Regions from separate parts of the Homo sapiens genome. Here regions 2 and 3 are each linked to region 1. The links are contacts of gene promoters, found by promoter capture Hi-C in human tissues and cell types (Jung and others, 2019). All regions are on one chromosome and are shown on one strand. Each heading gives the region's core, a stretch centred on a gene start or on the middle of the fragment in contact. The rest is flanking DNA. Distances are from core to core; before and after follow the strand shown.

Region 1 (2,704 bases), core at 97-2,596:
CTCCCTGTTGATCAGGCTGGTCTCGAACTCCGGACCTCAGGTGATCCACCCGCCTCAGCCTCCCAAAATGCTGGGATTACAGGCATGACCCACAGCGCCCGGTCCTTATTTAACCTCTTGTTGTTCTTTCTCCCCAATCTTTCAATCTTCCTCAATGTCTATATATTACAGCCTCTTCTCTTATCTCTCCGTCTCCTCTGCTCTCCCTATTAAATTCTCTCTTCCCTGTTATACCCCTCTGTCCCCACTCTCCAGCACCTCAGATCCCCAGGTGTCCTCCCTGCTGTGGTTCTCCATCTGTTCTTGCCACCAGCACCACTCTGCTCTGTCTGCCCTGGCTCCAAATCCCTCCTCCTCTCCCTCACTCTGGTGAGCCTCCCTCTTTGCTGCCCCTCTCCCTACCTTGCTGTCCTTCATCTTTCTGTACATCTAGCTTTTCTCTACATTTCTCCAGTTGCTTTTCTCCTCCTGCTTTCTTAGTTTTTTTTCTTTCACTTTTGCTGTCTCTTGGCAAATTCCTAACCCATCCTCTACTTTGCCATCTGTTATGGGCCTTTCTCATTCTTCTTTTCTCTGTCTCTGGTTTTCTACTGCTCTCTCAGTCCCTCTCTCTATCTCCTGATCCCTTTGGCCCAGGCGGGTTTGGAGTAATCACAGGCGGGTTTGGAGTAAGACGCCTGCATCCCGTAGAAGCGCATTTTCCAGGGGGTGGAGCTGGACAGGAAAGAACACCTGGTATCATAGGACAAGCCCCTGCGACCCACCCCAACCCTGGCTCAGGGGAAGCGAAGACTTGGGGAGCAGCAGGGCCCGGCACCAGGAGGGACGTGGTGGGCGACGGCACCCTAAGACAAAGGTGGGACCTGCAGGATCCCAGGACCAGGCAGAGGACGCAGCCTCCCCGGGGCTGGGGCCGGGGCGCCGCGCTCCAGGTGCCAACTGGGGCGAGGCTGGGAGGCGCCCAGGGCTGGAATCCACCTCGCGGGTGAGGACTTTAAAAAGCACGGGGCGGGAATAGTCAGAAAAATGTTTTGAGCAGGAAAAATACGCGATAGGAAGTGTATACATTGCCCTATAGCAGAAAGACCGGGGACGGGACCAGCCTCCGAGCGACTTCAAACCCAAAAGCAAGCAACTTCCAGACTCTTACCGGGACGTCTCAATTTGCTCTGGGTGAAGGGAAGACAGGCGAGAATTTCCAGGTCCGTGGGGATCCCACGTCCCAGGGGCAGAAGCGCCGGGGACCTGGGAAGTGCAGACTTAATCCAAGGCAGAGCAAAACTCACGCGCCGTGGTAGGACCTTCACTCCACGCGATCCGCTTCCGGGTTTGTGCGCGCCCAGGACTGAAGCCAGGCCGGGGCAGGTTGGCTGGACCTGGGCGGGGTAGAGGCGGGGCCCCAGGCGGAGAGACCTTGCCCTTTAGAACCGGCAGAGGGAGGGCCCGGGGCGGGACCTGTGCTTCTCAGCCTCGCACTCAGCGCCTCTGTTTTTCGAGTTTTTGGAGGCGACAGCGGCCAGGAAGGCTGAGGCATGATTCAAAAGCCCTGGAATTATCTGGAACGGGAATGCAAACTAGAATGTGAAATGCAAAGCCCTGCCAGGGCGGAACATACGATTTCATGCTGATGGCCCACAGAACAGAACAGAAATCCTCTCCCTTTCTATTCTCCATTCACTCAGGAGGGAGGGTCCACCCCGTGCTCAGCTTCAAAGTGTTCCCTAGGGCCTCCGCCTGGGATGCGGGACGGAGAGCTCAGGCCAGGGAGGAGTGAGGTCACCACCTGCTGCCTAAACACAGCAGGGATGCGGGCACGAGGCGGAAGCCTGAGGTCCCAGCTACTCAGGAAGCAGCGGCGGGAGAATCCCTGAACCTGGGGGTCCAGGCCATCCTGGGCGACAAAGTAACACCCCCTAACTGCAGGGTCCTCTTCCTGATCTCTCTCTCGCTCTTTTACTTTTTTTTTTTTTTTTTTTTTTTGAGACGGAGTCTCGCTGTGTCGCCCAGGCTGGAGTGCAGTGGCACGATTTTGGCTCACTGCAAGCTCCGCCTCCCGGGTTCACGCCCTTCTCCTGCCTCAGCCTTTCGAGTAACTGGAACTACAGGAGCCCGCCTAACCCAAACAAAAACAAGACCGGGCGCGCTGGCTCACACCTGTAATCTCAGCACTTTGGGAGGCTGAGGCGGGCAGATCATGAGGTCAGGAGATCGAGACCATCCTGGCTAACACAGTGAAACCCCATCTCTACTAAAAAATACAAAAAAATTAGCCAAGCGTGGTGGTGGGTGCCTGTAATCCCAGCTACTAGGGAGGCTGAGACAGGAGAATGGAGTGAACCCGGGAGGCGGAGCGTGCAGTGAGCCAAGATCGTGCCACTGCACTCCAGCCTGGGCGACAGAGCGAGGCTACGTCTCAAAAAAAAAAAAGAAAAAGAAAAAGAAAAAGAAATATCTCCCCTAGTTTGTCTCCTTTTCCAGAATTTACCAGATACCAGTACACAGATACCAGTGCATACATTAATGTATGACTTTCATACATAGATTCTCTGATCTGATCCACAAAGAGCTAAATGTGCATCCAGATGTGGCCCCTGAACAATCCCTGCTGCCCAATATCACTGACACCTTGGGGTCCACACCCCATCTCCATCCATCTCTGGTGTGAGCCCTTCCCAGGACCATGCCCAGTGCAGCCTCTTCCCAA
Region 2 (2,704 bases), core at 115-2,614, 660 kb before region 1:
CACATATTAAATCTTAAGGCTTGACAATAATCTTCTTTGACTCTATGTCCCACCTTCTAGACATCCTGGAGTAGGAGTTAGGTCCCCAGTGTCCTGGGGATCCCTGCCCCATTAGTTTTGTTGGGATCACCCACATGGAACTTCTCACAGGCTGTGGTTTCCCGAGCTGGGATCACATACTGGTGACTCTACAGTTCTGGGGTCTCAGGCGTGGTCCTGCTTCCAGGGCTCCCCTTGACCTTGCCCTAATAAGCACTCTCTAAGGTGTCCCTGCCTCCATGGCTAGGCTGAGAATTGCCTTAGTGGTGACCTCCTGTGGTAGCACTGAAAGGAACAGGATGAAAGGTTAGGGGCCACTGAGCAAAAAGATAACTGACGTAAACCGGTGTCTGCAATAACACAGAAAGACATGAGGGTGAAGATCTAGTACCACAGATATCTGCAGTACCAGAGTCTATCCACAATAGTACAGAAAATAGGGGAGCTTCTGAGTAGAAAGCAGCAAACCTCTTCAATAGGGAGATGACAAGCAAAGGCCCAGAGAAAAAGCATGGGAAGTCTCCAGAATCTAGGGTAGTTGATTGGAATGTCCTCCCTGAACAAAGCAGCCACCAAATCTGGGCAGGCAGCTGATTTTTTCAAATGCTGAAGTCACAAAAGAAGACAATAAAACATACAAAGAAACAGGGAAATACGGTCTACAAAAAGAAACCAACTGAATCTGTACAAACCTACATGAAAGAAATGGCAATTTACATCTTGGCTTTGAAGAATTAAAAAGAAATGTGGGCCGGGCATGATTGCTCACAACTGTAATCCCAGGACTTTCAGAACGCCAGGCAGGAAGATCACTTCAGAGCAGGAATTCGAGACCAGCCTGGCCAACATTATGAAACCCCATCTCTACTAAAAATACAAAAATTAGCCAGGCATGGTGGCACATGCCTGTAATCTGAGGCTGAGGCATGAGAATTGCTTGAACAGGAGGCAGAGGTTGCAGTGAGCTGAGATCCCACCCCTGCACTCCAGCCTCGGCAATAGAGTGTGACTCTGTCTCCAAAAATAAAGAAAATGCGAAGGTAGGCAGATCACCTGAGGTCAGGAGTTTAAGACCAGCCTGGCCAACACGGTGAAACCCCGTCTCTACTAAAAATACAAAAATTAGCCAGGTGTGGTGGCACGTGCCTGTAGTCCCAGCTACTCAGGGAGACTGAGGCAGGACAATTGCCCGAACCCAGGAGGCAGAGGTTGCAGTGAGTCGAGATCATGCCACTGCACTCCAGCCTGGGCGACAGAGCGAGACTCCATCTCAAAAAATAAATAATAAATAATTAAATAAAATAAAGAAAATGAAGAGAGTCTAATGGGCCCATGAAAAACCATCAAGCACCAAGAACATATGCATTCTGGGAGTCCAACAAATAATGTGAATATATCTAACATTACTGAACTTTACATAAGCAAACAAGCTTTAATGAAAGACATAATAAAGATATTATCAAAGACTGACAAACTCGATTCTTTTTGGAAGACATGGTGACATAAAGGCCTGCAACTGAAAAAATTCAGAGCCATGAAAACACAAACAAAATATGTGGGAATTTTTTTTTTTTTTAGAAGACAGAGTCTCACTGTCACCCAGGCAGGAGTGCAGTGGCACGATCTCAGCTCACTGCAACCTCCACCTCCCAAGTTCAAGGGATTCTCCTGCCTCGGCCTCCCAGGTAGCTAAGATTAAAGACGTGCACCATCATGTCCGGCTAATATTTGTATTTTCAGTAGAGACAGGGTTTCACCATGTTGGCCAGGCTGGTCTTGAACTCCTGACCTCAGGTGATCCACCCACCTTGGCCTCCCAAAGTGCCTGGATTACAGGTGTGAGCCACCACACCCGGCCAATATGTGGAATTTAAATAATATGTGGCTGTGTTGTGTAAAAGGAGAACCATAATAATTTTGGAAAGAAAATGGAGGGGTTTGCCAATCTACTTGTGAACCTATTATGTTATTTATAATCTAAAACTTTATAATCAAATATAATCTACAACAAGATATACAGAAAAATTCAAATTAAAGATTCAAGCAAATAAAATGTAAGCAACAAAATATTAGATCTTAAAAAAACACAGTATTTTATAATCACACAGCGAGCCAGGCCTTCCAAAGAAAGATCAGTTATTTATTTTTGCTTTTGTGGTATAGCGTCCTAACAGAAGCAACCACTCTTTAAACTGTCCAACCTGAAGGAACCCTCAAACACCTGTGGTGAAGAGAGCATTGTGGCAGCCATGGTGAAAAATTATAAAAGATCCATATGTCTTCATTTAGAGATTGTTCCAAAGAGGATGCAAAACAAGCTATTACTGCTTATTAACAAAAAAAGATGTATCTTTGAAAAACTGGCACAATGAAATTTCACAACAGAACATGTACTGAAGAATTGTTTTCTAAAATCTCATAATGACACGTAAATGCATCTTGACACCTCTCACTGACTCTTGCCACAGAACTTACAACTGTAGCTCCCCACGGAAACATGAGGGATGATGGAGAAAGTGACAGGGAAAAGAAACCCGGGTTCCTCCAGGTTGGGTAACTGAAAGAGTGATTGCCTCTTTAGGATGGTGCATTTCCTATTTTCCTGGATCTGGCAAGATTTCCCACTACCCTAAGGTGCAATGGTGTCCTCATACACCAACGACAC
Region 3 (2,704 bases), core at 79-2,578, 570 kb after region 1:
AGAATTCATACTGGAGAGAAACCTTACAAGTGTAATGAGTGTGGCAAAACCTTCCGTCACAATTCAGTCCTTGTAATTCATAAGACAATTCATACTGGAGAGAAACCTTACAAGTGTAATGAATGTGGCAAGGTTTTTAATCGAAAAGCAAAACTTGCACGTCATCATAGAATTCATACTGGAAAGAAACATTAGAAATATGAAGAATGTGACAAAGTTTACAGTTGTAAATCAAGTCTTGAAAGACAGGAGAATTCATACTGGAGAGAAAGCTTACAAATGTAAGAGTTTGTGACAAGAATCTTGGGCGTGATTCACACCTGGCCCAACAAACTAGAAGTCACACTGGAGAGAAACCTTACAAGTGTACTGAGTGTGGCAAAGCCTTTAGTGGGCAGTCAACACTTATTCACCATCAGGCAATCCATGGTATAGGGAAACTTTACTAATGTAATGATTATCACAAAGTCTTCAGTAACACTACAACCGTTTCAAATCATTGGAGAATCCATAATGAGAGATTTTGAAAGTGTAATAAATGTGGCAAATTTTTCAGACATTGTTCATACCTTGCAGTTCATCGGTGAACTCATGCTGGAGAGAAACCTTACAAATGTCATGATTGTGGCAAGGTCTTCAGTCTAGCTTCATCTTATGCAAAACAGGAGACTTCATACAGGAGACAAACTTCACAAGTATGATGATTGCAGCAAAGCCTTTACTTCACGTTCACACCTAATTAGACATCAGAGAATCCATACTGGACAGAAATCTTACAAATGTCATCAGTGTGGCAAGGTCTTCAGTCTGAGATCACCCCTTAAGGAACATCAGAAAATTCATTTTTGAGATGATTGTTCCAAATGCAATGAGTATAGCAAACCATCAAGCATTAATTGGCATTAGAGTCAATTCAGCATTGACTTGAGTTTGAATTGACTTAACATTGAGTTCAAGCATTAATTGACATTAAAGTGTTTATGTTAAGAAGATTGGGCCAGGCGGGGTGGCTCACGCCTGTAATCCCAGCACTTTGGGAGGCCAAGACCAATAGATCACTTGAGGTCAGGAGTTTGAGACCAGACTGGCCAACAGACATGAGTCACTTTTCCCACCCTGTATTTTGTTTCTTTAATAAAAACTGTTACGGGTTTTTATGGGTATCTGTTGAATCTAAATCACATTTGTTTGTATAATCATTCAACAATATTAAGACTTCCAATCCATCAATATGGGTTGTATGTCTATTTAGTTTTTTTGATCAATGTAGATTTCAAGGTACAAGCTTCTCACCTCCTTAATTCAGTTTATTTGTAAGTATTAAGTTTCATAGCAAATTGAAGTGTGTTCATAAGTTTCTTTAAACATTATTTATTGTTAATGTAAGGAAATTCAACTAATTTTGGGTGCTGATTTTGTATTCTGCAAATACATTGAGTGGGTTTATTAGTATCAGTAAAATCTTGGTTGATTCTTTGTGATTTTCTTTCTTTTTTTTTTGAGACAGTCTCACTCTGTTACCCAGGCTCTTTTCTTTTTTTTTGAGAAGGAGTCTCACTCTTGTCACTTGGACTGGAGTACAATGGCACGATCTTGGCTCACTGCAGCCTCTGCCTTTCGGGTTTAAGTGATTCTCCTGCCTACTAACTGAGATTACAGGTGCCTGCCACCATGTCCGTATAATTTTTTTGTATTTTTAGTAGAGACGGGGTTTCACCATGTTGACCAGGTTTTTCTTGAACTCCTGACTTCAGGTGATCCGCCCCCATCAGCATCCCAAAGTTCTGGGATTACAGGTGTGAGCCACCGCACCCAGCCAGTGATTTTCTATATAGAATGTCGTATCATCTACAAGGAAATAATTTTTTTTTTTGAGACAATGTCTCTCTCTGTCGCCAGGCTAGAGTGCCGTGGAATGATCTTTGCTCACTGCAACCTCTGTCTCCCACGTCCAAGCAATTCTGTCTCAGCCTCCTGAGTAGCTGGGACTACAGGCGCATGTCACCACACCTAGCTAATTTATTTATTTTTTTTATTTTAGTAAAGACGGGGTTTCACCATGTTGGCCCAGATGGTGGGCCAACATGGTGAGTACCTTGAAGAGAACTTGAAAGAATATGTTAGATCGCCTAACCTCATTATCCGCCCACTTCGGACTTGCAAATTGCTGGGATTATGGGTGTGAGCCATGAGCCCGGCCCCAACAAATGTAATTTTACTTCTGTCTTTCTGATTTGGATGAGTTTTATTTCTTTTGCTATTTAATTGCTCTGCCTAGGACAGCCAGTATTTATTGAATATCAGGGGTGAGAGCATTCTTGCATCATGTGATATCCTACAGGAAAACCATTCCATTTTCCTTCATTGGTTATTTCAGCTGTGGTCATTTCATGGATGATTTTTATATTTTTGAGGTAAAACTCTACCTATATTGTTTAGGATTTTTACGAAGAATGAATATTGAGTTCTGTGAAATGCTTTTTCTCTATCTATTGAGATAATGTGTTTTTTATCTGTCATTCTGTGCAAGTGTGTATCCCATTGATTTGAGTATGTTGAACCATCCTTGCATCCCATGAATAGGTAGCACTTGGATGTTTACAATCCCTTTTTATATCCTCTTGAATACAGTTTGCTAGTATAAGGGTCTTCAAGAAGTTCATGGAAAAATACATATTATGAAAAATTTGTGCATAAATTTCAC

The links. The method cuts DNA at HindIII sites, captures the fragments that hold promoters and counts their contacts. A contact is called where the count stands out against the background at its distance.
Region 2: a fragment that was not itself captured here is called in contact with the fragment with the promoter of ZNF600 in region 1 in 1 of the 25 tissues and cell types used here (dorsolateral prefrontal cortex).
Region 3: a fragment that was not itself captured here is called in contact with the fragment with the promoter of ZNF600 in region 1 in 2 of the 25 tissues and cell types used here (dorsolateral prefrontal cortex and hippocampus).

What each region holds. Positions count from the first base shown.
Region 1 is chr19:52,785,445-52,788,148 of GRCh38, forward strand. It overlaps ZNF600 (zinc finger protein 600), which reads right to left and starts at 1,347. Exons shown (of 6, transcript NM_001321866.4): 1 at 1,151-1,347. RefSeq lists enhancers at 307-1,165, 1,166-2,023 and a silencer at 1,356-1,505. The HindIII fragment of the contact is 28,786 bases long and covers 1-2,704 here.
Region 2 is chr19:52,125,458-52,128,161 of GRCh38, forward strand. The region is part of intron 2 of ZNF616 (zinc finger protein 616); the gene reads right to left. Among named protein-coding and RNA genes, the nearest start is that of ZNF616, 13 kb to the right of the region's middle. The HindIII fragment of the contact is 6,561 bases long and covers 1-2,704 here.
Region 3 is chr19:53,353,394-53,356,097 of GRCh38, forward strand. ZNF845 (zinc finger protein 845) reads left to right here. Exons shown (of 4, transcript NM_138374.3): 4 at 1-2,704. The coding sequence ends at 195. It also overlaps the pseudogene LOC107987264. Among named protein-coding and RNA genes, the nearest start is that of ZNF525, 11 kb to the right of the region's middle. The HindIII fragment of the contact is 6,579 bases long and covers 1-2,704 here.